Linked DNA regions of Homo sapiens: region 2 is linked to region 1. The links are contacts of gene promoters, found by promoter capture Hi-C in blood cells and fetal thymus (Javierre and others, 2016). All regions are on one chromosome and are shown on one strand. The core of a region is centred on a gene start or on the middle of the fragment in contact, and the rest is flanking DNA. Distances in the headings are between cores, read along the strand shown. Region 1 overlaps TRAFD1 (TRAF-type zinc finger domain containing 1). Region 2 holds the start of RPL6 (ribosomal protein L6).

What was found. Contacts are between HindIII fragments. The CHiCAGO score rates a contact against its expected background, and 5 or more counts as called.
Region 2: a contact is called between the fragment with the promoter of RPL6 here and a fragment that was not itself captured in region 1, in 3 of 17 cell types (erythroblasts, fetal thymus and naive CD4 T cells). The highest score is 9.0, in erythroblasts.

What each region holds. Positions count from the first base shown.
Region 1 is chr12:112,128,059-112,135,345 of GRCh38, forward strand. TRAFD1 (TRAF-type zinc finger domain containing 1) reads left to right here. Exons shown (of 12, transcript NM_006700.3): 2 at 2,453-2,511; 3 at 6,680-6,815; 4 at 6,955-7,008. The coding sequence starts at 2,465. Among named protein-coding and RNA genes, the nearest start is that of TRAFD1, 6.1 kb to the left of the region's middle. RefSeq lists an enhancer at 2,656-2,705. The HindIII fragment of the contact is 894 bases long and covers 2,621-3,514 here.
Region 2 is chr12:112,406,599-112,413,885 of GRCh38, forward strand. RPL6 (ribosomal protein L6) reads right to left here and starts at 3,007. Exons shown (of 7, transcript NM_000970.6): 1 at 2,989-3,007; 2 at 1,822-2,058; 3 at 1,642-1,740; 4 at 149-292. The coding sequence starts at 2,058. RefSeq lists an enhancer at 2,638-2,817. The HindIII fragment of the contact is 30,731 bases long and covers 1-7,287 here.

The DNA.
Region 1 (7,287 bases), core at 1,818-4,317:
TTGCCCAGGCTGGGGTGCAGTGGTGTGATCCTGGCTTACTGCAACCTCCACCTCCCGGGTTCAAGCAATTCTGCTTCAGCCTCCCTAGTAGCTGGGACTACAGGCACCCGGCTAATTTTTTTATTTTTAGTAGAGAGGTGTTTCGCCATGCTGGCCAGGCTGGTCTTGAACTCCTGACCTCAAGTGATCCGCCCACCTCAGCCTCCCAAAGTGCTGGGATTACAGGCATGAGCCACTGGACCCAGCCTCAAAGTATTGTCTTAATTAAGCATGTTGAACAAATGACTAAATACATGTTTTGAAAAGTGGCAACTCGCTTGATAATGCCAAAACCTTTAAAGAACCCTACTGGGGGCAGGATTTAAGACCATTTTTGTATCATGGAAAGGAATAATCTAAACTAAACAATGGTAGTAAAGTTGCCAGTGCTTTGCTTTCTGCATTGACATCTTGTTTAAAAAGCAGGAGAAACTTTATAGTGAAGAAATTTGGCAGACACCATATCAACTATGTGATCATGGTTTACATCAATAGTAAAATAAGACTGTTGACATCATGTACCTTCTGATATAAGGCACTGAGATGAGCACAACATGATTTCTATGGTGTTCTTGCCAAAAATATATAACCTGAATTTAATCATGAGAAAATATCAGACAAACCCAAATTGAAGGATATTATATAAAATAACTAGCTGGCTGGGCACGGTGACTCATGCCTGTAATCCCAGCACTTTGGGAGGCTGAGGCTGGCTGGTGGATCATATGAGGTCAGGAGTTTGAGACCAGCCTGGTCAACATGGTGAAACTCCATCTCTACTGAAAATACAAAAATTAGCTGGGCATGGTGGTGCACACCTGTGGTCCCAGCTACTCAGGAGGCTGAGGTCGAGGTTGCAGTGAGCCGAGATCGCAGTGAGCCGAGATCGCACCACTGCACTCCAGCCTAGACAGCAGAGTGAGACTCTGTTTAAAAAAAAAAAAAAAAAAAAAGCCAGTATGCTTAACAAGGTCATGAAAGAGAAGGAAAGACTGAAGAACTCTCCCAAATCAAAGGAGATTAACTACAAGTAATAGCCAAATGCAGTGTGTGATCCTAGATTGAATGCTGAACCAGAAAAAGGGTGGGATGGTGATTTTTTTTTTTTTTTTTTTTTTTTTTGAGACAGGATCTCACTCTGTCACCCAGGCTAGGGTGCAGTGGTACAATCACTGCTCACTGCAGCTTTGACCTCCTGGGCTTAAGTGATCTTCCCATCTCAGCCTTCTGAGTAGTTGGGACCACAGGTGTGTGCCACCACGTCTGGCTAATTTTTAAATTGTTTGTAGAGAAGGGTTTCACCATGTTGCCCAGGCTGATCTTAAACTCCTGGGTTCAAGCGATCCTCTTCAGCTCAGCCTCCCAAAGTTCTGGGAGTACAGGCATGAGCCCCTGTGCCTGACTTGTTGGTGAAATTTGAATGAATTCTATAGATTAGTTACTAGTATTGTATTAGTGTTAATTTCCTCTATTTGATAATTTTACTATTGTTATGATGCTTTTAGGGTAATTGGATGAAGTCTGTAAGGGATGTTATTTTATTTTTATTTATTTATTTATTTTTGAGACGGAGTCTTACTCTGTCGCTAGGGTGGAGTGCAGTGGCACGATCTTGGCTCACTGCAACTTCTGACTCCCTGGTTGAAGCGATTCTCCTGCCTCAGCCTCGCGAGTAGCTGGGATTACAGGCATGCGCCACCACACCCAGCTAATTTTTGTATTTTTAGTAGAGATGGGGGTTTCACCATGTTGGCTAGGATGGTCTCGATCTCCTGACCTTGTGATCTGCCTGCCTCGGCCTCCCTAAGTCCTGGGATTACAGGTGTGAGCCACTGCGCCTGGCCAGGATGTTATTATTATTATTATTTTTGAGACAGGGTCTCACTCTGTCACCCAGGCTGGAGTGCAGTGGCATGATCATGGCTCTCTGCAGCCTTAAACTCCTAGGCTTAAGCATTCCTCTTGCACATTCCTCCTGCCTCGGCCTCTCGAGTAGCTGGGACTACAGGCACACATCACCATGCCTGGGTAATTTTTTTTTTTTGTATTTTTTGTAGACATGACGTTACCCCATGTTGTGGCCAGGTTGGTCTTAAACTCCTGGGCTCAAGTGATCCGCCTGCCTCGGCCTCCCAAAGTACTGAGATTACAGGCATGAGCCACTGTACCCAGCCTAGTAAAAGTATTTTATTTTATTATTTTTATTTTTTAAAACTCCCTTATCCAATAAAATTATTTTAAATTGAAAATTTTAAAATAAGAAAATCCCAAGGGACTGGATATTGAATAAAATGCTTTAACATGCAGGTTTGGGTGACAGTTTCTGTATACTAGTTTTTTATTTGTTTTTTTGCATGTCATCTTTAAAGCAGAAATGAAAGAGAAAGTTCATGTCTTCCTTTGTGGTTTTCAGGAAGAGCTAAAGATGGCTGAATTTCTAGATGACCAGGAAACTCGACTGTGTGACAACTGGTAAGACATTAAATCTAAGAAATGTTAGTGGAATGAGGACAGTCAAGCTTAATCACTATCATTTCCTGATTTAAAAACTGTTAGTGAAGACTGGCACAGTCTTGAGTTAAGCTTTCTATTTTGGTGTTTATAACCCACATGAATTACAAGAAAGAGCATCTCTTTCCTGATGAAATGAAACCGGTTGTAAAGTTAATAATCAGCTGGTTCCTGTTGGGGTTTTCCTAAGAACTTATCTTGGTATCTTGGTGCTATACAAGTGCTGTTACTGTAAGCTGACAAAAAAAGCAAAGCAGAACTGTCTGCTATGTTTATTACTTTATTTTCCTTCACTGGGTACTTCTTTCACAATGTGCTATGTTTACCTTAGCAAACTGTGGTAGAAAGAGATGTGGAATAAGGAAAATAGTTTAACTCATTGGTGGAATATTTGAGCCAAATAACATTTTTGTCATCATCGTTGTCTTTTTCTTTCTTCTCAGCCTAACTTTGGCAGAATTAGAATATAATTAGAGCAACAGCTGGTTACAATATTCTTTACCTGCTTGGAATTAAGATTTCATCTCATTGTAGGTGTCTTGCCATATTGTAGAGTATTTCTGCTATGCCACTATCACTTTCTACCATTTCATAAACTATTTTAGTTTTGTTTGGGTTTTATATGTATAGCTACTGAAACAGAGTAATCAGAAACAAATAATCAAAAGAAAACATGATTTTGTAAGAAAAGAGACACATTGGTTTTTAGCATTAGTTAAGATACACCTATTTTATCAGTCCACTCCAATTAGGAGGAATCTCAAGCCTAGGACAAAATATAAATAACTATGCTAAGAGAGTTAAAGGGTGAGTTAATGGAAAGCTAGTGAAAAACAATGCTATTCAAAGCCAAAGAAATTAAAGAAAAAAGCAGATTAGCATAGAAGGCTGACTAAACCTGTAAAGAATTAATTTCTGGCTGTTTGTGTTTAGTGTTTGGAAAGTTCTTGGGAATTTTTCTGGAAGCTTTGGTTTGCCTTTCAGCTATTTCTATCTAAATGAAATTTCACCTCTAATTTGCTAGCCCTTCCTTGAGACTTTTAGCAGTTTTATCTGGATACGGAATTGTGTGCTCATTTATCTCACTTAAAACATCTTCATTTTCTCCGAAGGTAGGAAGTAAGCATATTAGTATTTGGTCTGGTTGGAATGTTTGGTAGGAATATGTTGGCAGTTAAATTTTAAAAGAAAAAAACCCAGCAGGCAACTGTTTTATATAATTGTTGCAAATATCTTTTTTATTTCAGCATTTCCTAAGAGGTGAATATGTGCAATAGTAAATGCTTTGTGGTCTTACTTGACAGCTGCTTTTGATTCTTGTTGCTTCATATTATGATGGTGTGGTCCTTAATATTTTTTGTTTTAATTCTAAAGTTTTAGGGGCCTTGTGTATGTAGTATGTCAACAAGTTATCCTGAACAGCCTTGTAAAGTAAATGCTAGACATTTAGTGTCTCCATATTTACCATTAAAATAAAAATTATTGCCAATATTATGAAAAAGGAACCCAGGTTTTCTACACCCTAAGCAGTAATTACTGGCTTTAATTTTCATGGCATTTGTACATACATGATTTACAATCACAATATAACATTTCTTCTTTCACTTTGTTGGTATACTATATGTAACTTAGCTATTCCTTTCTTGCTTAGGTATTTTTAATGACTTTCATTTTTTACCATTCTATGATACTGTAATGAAAATATTCATACATAATCCCAAGAGTAGGATTATTGTGTTACAGAGTATATAATTTTATGGTCCTAGAAATGAATTTTCAGACTGTTTTTAGGCAGTTTATACTACCACCAGTAATGTATTAAAGTATTCATTTCACAACATCTTTAAAAAGTTGGGATGTATTATTTTAACTAAATTAATTCAAAATGAGTAGTTTCCTTAGAAAGCTAAAAATTTGAGAGAAATATGGGAAGTTAAATCTGTCAGTAATTTTCCTCTTTATCCATTTGAGTTTTCTTCCCATCTCTCACAGTTGATTGTTCTGTCACCTTCCAGTGCTGCTTTGAGAGCTGCCTTGGGGTCCCTAGCTTGATAATTCCACCACTGGATGAAAATGAATTTGCACTTCCTTGGTGTCTTGGTCTTTCAGTTTGGAAGAATGACTATAGCTGGAGGCACATCATTTATCCTACTTCAAAATGTTTCTTAGACAATGTCTGAATATTAAAGGTTATTAAAAGAGAAATAAGCTATTTATAATTTAGTATGGGAGACAGTTCTTCTAGTATTCAGCTTCAGAGGCAAAATATGGTATTAAATAATGTGTTTTATGACTATCTGTATTGATCCTGTTCAGTATTTTATTTTTCTGAATTATTGTTATACGTACCTTCTTTAATGTAGTTTTTAGCTGGTGAAATTGGAATTTTACAATGGTCCTATCCAAATAAGTAAAAGTAAGGCCTTTGAATAGAATGTACCTTTAGTTCGAGTACATGTATAATCTTTTCATGTTTAAATGGTCTTACTCTTTCATGTAACATTATCACTTTACCTCCTTAATTTGTATAGCTTAGATATGATCTTTGAACCACTAAACTAAGTGAGAAAGGCAAAAATGAAGTGGAGAGACCAGACTGGTGGAGGAAAGGGTTCAGGATTTCATTTTTGTACAGCTTTACAGTGAAGTTTCTACCAACCCAGCCAGAGAGCATGTTCCTGTAGTCAGGAAGCATCCAGCCTGCTTCGAAAGGCATGTGAGGCATACAGGAGACAATTTCCCCTTCCCCTTTGACTGTCCAAAAGCTGGAGTCTTCTCTTTTTGGTTTGACTTTTCATGGAATAAAATCCAATGAAATTAAACTACTTAAAAGTGAGAGAAAATCAGTGGTAGGGTGTTTTTTCACTTGTTTTTGTTGTTGTTTTGGTTTGTTTTCTGTTTTAAAATAATCCTGGAGCGTATCACTCTGCTTTGGGACATGGATGGTTTTGGAATAGCCTAGCTCCACTCTTTTTGGCATCTGACTTCATGTTGTGATCAGCTCTGACTTTGAGAAAGTAAGGCTGAGCTTTTAGATGTAGTAGTGCATAGCACCGGTAACTCAGAATGTTGCACAGAAGAGCCTTCAGGATTTAGTTCTTTTTTTTTTTTTTTTTGATACGGAATCTTGCTATCCCCGAGGCTGGAGTGCAGTGGCATGATCTCAGCTTTCTGCAACCTCTGCCTCCCGGGTTCAAGTGATTCTCCTGCCTCAGCCTCCCGAGTAATTGGGATTACAGGTACCCGCCACCACACCTGGTTAATTTTTTATATTTTTGGTAGAAGCGGGGTTTCACCATGTTGGCTAGGCTGGTCTTGAACTCCTAACTTCAAGTGATCTGCTTGCCTCAGCCTCCCAATGTGCTGGCGTTACTGCACCTGGAAAGGATTTAATTTTTTTTTTTTTTTTTTTTTTTTTTGAGACAGAGTTTTGCTCTTGTTGCCCAGGCTGGAGTGCAATGGCACGATCTAGGCTCACTGCATCTTCCGCCTCCCGGGTTCAAGCGATTCTCCTGCCTCAGCCTCCTGAGTAGCTGAGATTACAGGCATGTGCCGCCACACCTGGCTAATTTTGTATTTTTAGTAGAGACGGGGTTTCACCATGTTGGCCAGGCTGATCTCGAACTCCTGACCTCAGGTGATCTGCCCGCCTCAGCCTCTCAAAGTGCTGGGATTACAGGCGTGAGCCACGGCGCCCGGCCAGTTTTTTTTTTTTTTTTTTATAGCAACCTCTGCCTCCTGGGTTCAAGCGATTCTCCTGCCTCAGCCTCCCGAGTAGCTGGGATTACAGGTGCCCGCCATCACGCCTGGCTAATTTTTATATTTTTAGTAGAGATGGGGTTTCACCATGTTGGCCAGGTTGGTCTCGAACGCCTGACCTCAGGTGATCCGCCTGCCTCGGCTTCCCAAAGTGCTGAGATTACAGGCATGAGCCACCGCGCCTGGCCAGGATTTAGTTCTTGAAAAGCAGGAATGGTAATAGTCATGAGTTTGTAGGCTAGGTATTCACTAAAGATAAATAATGGAGACTAAAGATTGGACAGGACAGATTTCCATGTGATGCCACTGTGCAAGAAAAGGCATAGATTAGTCAGTAATGCTTGCCTTTTTCTTTGGTCTATTTCCGTAGCAAAAAAGAAATTCCTGTGTTTAACTTTACCATCCATGAGATCCACTGTCAAAGGAACATTGGTATGTGTCCTACCTGTAAGGAACCATTTCCCAAATCTGACATGGAGACTCACATGGCTGCAGAACACTGTCAGGTGAGCCACCAAGTACTCAAATGTTTATACATGTGTTATACTTGCTGTTGTTCGTAAATGTATTCTGTTTGCTATTGTGCAATAGCAAATGAGCATATTGTCCCAAAGCCAATTTACTGATTCTCACTTCTTACTCTAGGTGACCTGCAAATGTAACAAGAAGTTGGAGAAGAGGCTGTTAAAGAAGCATGAGGTTAGTCCATGGAGTGAGTTACCGTGGGCCCAGTCCTGCTGAGATTACAGACCCACATGCAGAGCAGGAAGCCAGTCTGGTTGAGTGTTAGTTCTCCGTGAGCTCACATGCATACTGTTTCTCAAAGCCTGTTTGAGGCCTTGACTATGTAACTGCTGCCAGATTCGGCTACCTGGCTGTTGGAACTCACTTGTGTATGTTGAGACTCGCGAAGTATCTCCCTTTGGAACTGAGTCTATTATTTCTGTTGGGGTTTGGTTATTGGCAGCCTCACTGAAT
Region 2 (7,287 bases), core at 1,757-4,256, 280 kb after region 1:
TTGCAACAACTAAGTTGTATCTTGCAGATCATTTCCCCTTGCCCCAAACATAGGTAAATAAAGGAAAAGTACACCTAGCGTGCAAACGCATTGCCACCAGGCACCCCAGGCAGCTGCAGTGAAGCGCCCCAAGCACAGGTACTCTCACCTTGCCCCTGTGGCGTCCAGTGAGGATGATCAGAATGGTCCCGGGGGTAATGCTGGCTCGCAGTTTTCTCACGTGCTGACTGAAGGGTTTTTTGCCGTGGCTCAACAGCTTTCGAGGCACATCTTCAGTAGGATAATATCTAGGCTGTGGAGAGTCCATAGATCCAACTTATTTAAATAAGCCATTCAGATTACTAGAAGCAAGCTATGTCAGCCAAACTTTTGCTACAGCCTTTTTATTTTAAAGTATAATACTGTATTTATATGATTCCATTTTCATTTCTGCTAAGTAGACTTGGAAAAGGTCAATTATGCTTCTGCATCCTGTGTGCAAAAAAGGAGACACCATTTAATGAATGAGATGTGTGCTCAAGCAAAGAAAGCATCAAGCAAGTCACCTTTGCAATCTTGAGCAAAAACTAAACCTCAGAGATTACACGTGTGACATGCCACATTTTGCAGATTAGGGATACATGGCTTGTTTTCCAATTCAAGTAAAGTGTGTCCATATCCTAGCCACTTCATCTGATCCTCACAGCAACAAGTCTTACTCCCACTTCATCCACAAAGGAAAACAAATTGCATAAAGCCAGACACTAGGACTGGCAGATCATTTATTGCAGAAGTTAGACACCATGCAAGGGCCATTAAAGACATGACTACAAATAACTCACAATAACCTATTTCCAACTATACCATATCATTAGTGCAGTCTCACTTTCACCACAAACATGATCACCTAATGGGAAAACGAGTTCACAAAACAACTGTCATCTTCCCTCTCATGCAGTAATCTTCAACTGTGAAACTGTATGGTGTTAACTTATTTGGGAATGTTCCCATAATGAAAATTACAGAGCAAATCCTGAGATTACATTGGGTCTTGTGTGTGGTAAAGGGGGCCAAGAAACACTGCTCTAGTGGGAAATGTTCTATAGAACAGGCTATGTATTATTTCATTTAATCTCCATAAAAACTCTTTGAGGTAAACCCTCATTCCCATCTTATCTTTTTTTGAGATGAAGCCTCCCTCTGTCGCCCAGGCTGGAGTGCAGTAGTGCAATCTCTGCCTCCCGGGTTCAAGCGATTCTTCTGCCTCAGCCTCCAGAGCAGCTGGGACTACAGGCACGCAACCAGCTAATTTGTATATTTTTACTAGAGATGTGGTTTCACCATGTTGGCCAGGCTGGTCTTGAACTCCTGACCTCAGGTGATCTGCTCGCCTCAGCCTCCCAAAGTGCTGGGATTACAGGCATTAGCCACCACACTCAGCCTCATTCCCATATTATATGCAAAGGAACAAAGCACAGACGAGTAATTTAAATTACTTAAGATTAACAGTAAATGTTGAAGCCAAGTTACAAACCCAGAGCCCTTTATTTTCTATCAGAAATTCTCCGGTATGCAGAAACTTACAGTATCTAAGTATTCAAAAACATCTTCACAGTATTCAAGCATAAACAGAAAATCCAATTTACAGTCCCCACATCTTACCATTTTGCGAAGTTTAACCACCCGGGTACCGCCGTTCTTGTCACCACCAACTGGTTTTGTAACAGTTGCGAGAACCTTCTCCTTCTTTTTCTTTTCAACCTACAAGGACACAAATGCATCAACAGTAAGAGAATGCCAATTAAGGTTAAGACATAATGGTCCGTGGTCCTCTTCCCTTACCTTGGATTTAGCGGCTGAGTACTTCCTCTTGTACATGGCCTTTCTGGAATACATGGCAGATCGGGAATACCTGCCAATTCCTCTGACAAGGACAGGGTTGCGGCTGCAATGGGGCTTCCCCTTCTTGGGCTTTTTAGCTTTGAGGTTACCCTTTTTCACCTTGCCACCAGCATCAACCTTCTTGGCTTCGGGTTTCTTCTCTTTAGTATCTGGCTTCTCAACTTTTTCACCCGCCATCTAAAAATATTTTTTTGTAGATAAAAAAAGGCATTTCACCAGTCATCTCTCTAACAAGACAATAATGAACCTGTACATGAATGGGCTGGGCTCCCCAGACTACAATCCCTCCCCCGGTAAGATACAGGCCTTCCTCTCAAACTCTACCCATTCTACTCCAACCTTCACTATGACTCATTTGGGGTTTGTCTCCCCAATACACTATAAACTTTTTTTTTGAGAATTTGAAACTACCTCACACCTATTAGGTTTTTTGCCAAATACTGAGCGGTCAGAAGTCCGTACAACCATTATTTTTTATTACTGTTTTGCGAATTAGAAAACTTAGATGCAGAATGTGTCCACAGGTTAGAAGCACCAAGACCAGAACTTGAAATCCCTTACTTTCAGTACCTTTCGTCTTAACCCTTAAGACCAGTGTCTCTTTTCAAGAAACTCGATTTAGGAATTGCGGACACAAACGGAATCAGCCCAAATTGAGCCAGAGAAAAAGATCGCAAAGACCAAGAGGCGACTTCCGGTCGGGGACGCTGGGAGACGCGAAACCTTTTGGCTTCAGTGCGGAACCCCAACGTGGCTGCGACAGGCTCAGTGTCATCCTCTGGAACCCAGGACCAGGAACACAGTGCACGCGCCGTCTCCCCGCTTCCTCTAACACCCACCAGTCTGCTACGGGTCCCCGAAAGGGCCTCGTTCCCCCAGCCCAAGAGAGTGGCGAAGAACCGGAGGGAGCCACTACGGCATTCTACCTCACCCTCTTTGTGCCCTGCCGCAAACCCAAACAACAAAAATGAAGCGTCTGGAAGGCCTCTCAGTTAGCCTTGGACATGTCCGACCCCTGTAGGTGTCGACTGGATGCCCTCCAGGTTCGGATGGCGAAGGATTGGGAGTCCTGAACTCAAGTCTTGCAGACAGGCCCGCGATTCTTACCTTGCAAGATGGGAAAGAGAATTAAGGTCCCGGCTTCCGGTCTATAAGCAATCATGGGAAGTGCGAGTCTCACTTCCTTCCGGATCTGGGGCATCATGGGGAATGTAGTATTTCCCCGTTAAGAAAAAAGTAGTAAATCCTAGGCCGGGTGCGGTGGCTCACGCCTGTAATCCCAGCCCTTTGGGAGGCCGAGGCAGGAGGATCCTCTGAGGTTGGCAGTTCGAGACCAGCCTGGCCAACATGGTGAAATCCCGTCTCTACTAAAAATACAAAAGGTAGCCGGGCGTGGGTGGTGCGTGTCTGTAATGACAGCCAGTCGAGGCGCGGAGGCAGGAGAATCACTTGAATCTGGAGGTGGAGATTGCAGTGAGCCAAGATCGCGACACTGCGCTCTAGGCAACAGAGCAAGATTCTCAAAAAAGAAAAAAAAAAAAAAAAGGGCCGGACACGGTGGCTCACGCCTGTAATCCCAGCACTCCAAAGATCGTGCCACTGCGTGCCACCGCACTCCAGCCTGGGAAATAGAGCCAGACTCAGTCTCAAAACAATAACAACAACAAAAAAAAGAAAAAAAGAAAAAAAATTAGCCGAGTGTGGTTGTTAGTGCCTGTAGTCCCAGCTATTCGGGAGGCTAAGGCGGGAGGATCACTTGAGTCTTGGAGGTCTGGGCTGCAGTGCAGTGAACTCTAATCTTGTCACTTGAGATTAGGTCAGTGGTCCCCTCTTCCCTTACCTTGGATTTAGCGGCTGACTACTTCCTCTTGTACATGGCCTTTCTCATTCCCGTCCTCCGGCCTGGCCTACAGAATGAGACTCTGTCTTAAAAAAAGTAAAAAAAAATTAAAGTGAGGATAACAATAGTAACTTACTTCATAAGGATGTTGGGAACATTAAATAATATATACAACAGTACTGAGAAGCATATTTGATTATTTGATGGATGGTAAATGCTACATAAGTGTTAGCTCTTTTTTTTTTTTTTTTTTTTTTTTTTTTTTTTTTTTTGAGATGGAGTCTCGCTCTGTCACCCAGGCTGGAGTGTGGTGGCACGATCTTGGCTCACGGCAACCTCTGCCTCCTGGGTTCAAGTGATTCTCCTGCCTCAGCCTCCCAAGTAGCAGGGATTACAGGCGCACACCACCATGCCCAGCTAATTTTTTGTATTTTTAGTAGAGACAGAGTTTCACCATGATGGCCAAGCTGGTTTTGAACTCCTGACCTCAAGTAATCCACCCGCCTCAGCCTCCCAAAGTGCTAGGATTACAGGCGTGAGCCACCGCACCTGGCGAACTGTTAGCTCTTGTTATTGTCACCATCACCACTACAATCATCTGATCATCAACATCCTAGTTGTTGTCAAGTATTCTGCTAAAGTTTATGCATGGGAGATAATAGGCAATATTGCATACAATGTGCCTTGCTTTATTTCATTTAATTCTCCCAACAACCTGTGAATGATACTATTATGAGGAAACTGAGTCTCAAGGACATTAAGTAACTTGCTCACAGCATAGATCTGATTCCAAAGATTGCACTCTTAACCATTAGGCTGCAAGATTAAAGAGATGATTAATGAAGATGCATGAGAGTTTTGCTCATGTTAGAATTAAAAATAAGAATATTTATTATCTTTTACAAAATACACAACACAGTATATGTGATAGTTCTTTACTGCTTCAAAGCCCTTAAGCCAACATGTACACATTTGTAATACCTTCTAGCTTGCGTTTTCCATTTTCCTCCATTCGTTTCTTTCTGGTTGCTAGAGCTTTTCACCTTGATTTTTTCAGATCGAAACCACCTGCTTCATGGCTGTGTCTCTGGGAATCATTTAGCCTTTTTCTGGTTCTGATTCACTGAGGATACAAATACAATGATCAGATGAACACTGCCCTTTTTTTTGAGAATGGGAATGTCAGCAGCTTTATTTGTTTAGCTTCCTCAGCAAAGCACCTCTTAGAAACTTCAACTGCAGAAAATGTACCACAATGAATGAATGAGATGCACAGTTGCTTACGTGGGCCCCTCAAAATTGCTGGCAATCTCAGATAATTTCACCTAGTGAACGCCCCAAAATATGTGTTGAATGACCTGTCATTAAAATAAAAACGTAGATGAACCCCCTCTTGTGTTTTGTTGCGGTATTGCAAAATTTACAATTCATTAGTTGGGCAAAATACCATGTTAGTTATAAAGTAAATGTTTTTATTAAGTTTAGTTTTGCCATATATAAAATTCTCTGAAATTTGTGCAGCACTTTAATCACAAAGCAGACATTTTTGCAGACACTTAATCTTTTTTTTTTTTTTCTGAGATGGAGTCTTGCTCTGTCGCCCAGGCTGGAGTGCAGTGCCGTGATCTTGGCTCACTGCAACCTCTGCCTCCTGGGTTCAAGCCATTCTCCTGCCTCAGCCTCTTGAGTAGCTGGGATTACAGGTGCCCGCTACCACACCTGGCTAATTTTTTTTTTTGAAACAGAGTCTTGCTCTTTTGCCCAGGCTGGAGCGCGGTGGCATGATCTCGGCTCACTGCAACCTTCGCCTCCCGGGTTCACGCCATTCTCCTGCCTCAGCCTCCCGAGTAGCTGGGACTACAGGCGCCCGCCACCATGCCTGACTAATTTTTTGTATTTTTAGTAGAGGTGGGGTTTCACTGTGTTAGCCAGGATGGTCTCGATCTCCTGACCTCGTGATCTGCCCGCCTCGACCTCCCAAAGTGCTGGGATTACAGGCCTGAGCCACCTTGCCCGGCCAATTTTTTGTGTTTTTATTGGAGACAGGATTTCACCATGTTGGCCAGGCTGGTTTTGAACTCCTGACCTCAGGTGATCTGCTCACCTCGGCCTCCCAAAGTGCTGGGATTACAGGCGTGAGCCACCTCGCCCAGCCTAATTTTTTTTTTTTTTTGGAGACAGAGTCTCGCTCTGTCGCCCAGGCTGGAATGCAAGGTGAGATCATGGCTCACTGCAGCCTTGACCTCCTGGGTTCAAGCAATCCTCCCACCTCAGCCCCCTGAGTAGCTGGGAGTACAGTGCACACCACCATACCTGGCTAATTTTTTTACATTTTTTGTAGAGACAGGGTCTCACAATGTTGCCTCAGCTGTATTTTTTGTTTGTTTGTTAGGCAGTAAATCTTTTAAAGCCTGGCCAACATGGTGAAACCCCATCTCTGCTAAAAATACAAAAATTAGCCAGGCATGGTGGTGCATGCCTGTAATTCCAGCTACTTGGGAGGCTGAGGCACGAGAATCACTTGAACCCGGGAGGCAGAGGTTGCAGTGAGCCGAGATTGTGCCACTGCACTCCAGCCTGGGCCACACAGTGAGACTCTGTCTCAAATAAATAAATAAATAAATAAATAAATAAATAAATAGAAAAATATCTTTATATGTGTTATGTATGTGTGTGAGCCTGTGTATGGGATGAGTTTGTGTGTTTGTATATGTATAAAGTGTGGAAAGACATACACCAAACCATTAACACTGCTGGGGATTGGGATATGGAGTACGTATGCATCAAGGAACAGAGAAAATTACTGTTTGTTATTTAGTTTGTTGCAAGGAACTTGTATTGCTTTTGTAATTGAGAAAGAAATTCAAATAAAGTAATGGCTATTATCTGAATTAATCTCTAAATGAATATATCTTTTTAAAATTAAGATGGAGTTGGCCGGGTGCGGTGGCTCACGCCTGTAATCCCAGCACTTTGGGAAGCCAAGGCAGGTGGATCACGAAGTCAGGAGATCGAGACCATCCTGGCTAACACGGCGAAACCCCGTCTCTACTAAAAAATACAAAAAAATTAGCCGGGCATGGTGGCGGGTGCCTGTAGTCCCAGCTACTCGGGAGGCTGAGGCAGGAGAATGGTGTGAACCCGGAAGGCAGAGTTTGCAGTGAGCCGAGATTGTGCCACTGCACTCCAGCCTGGGCGACAGAGTGAAGACTCCATCTTAAAAAGTAAATAAATAATAATAATAAAATAATTCAGATTGAGGTTTTTTTGTTTTGTTTTGTTTTGTTTTGTTTTTGCTATGTTGCCCAGGCTGCCAGTCTGGTCTCAAACTCCTGTCTCAAGAGATCCTCCTGTTAGCTACCATGCCCGGCCATATAAATGAATATGCCAGGCACTACTCCAGGCATATAAAGATGGGAAGACCGGCCGGACATGGTAGCTCATGCCTGTAATCCTAGCACTTTGGGAGGCGGAGGCAGGATGATTGTTTGAGCCCAGGGGTTTTAGACCAATCTGGGTAACATGGCAAAACCCTGTCTGTATTAAAAAAAAAAAAAAAGGAAGAC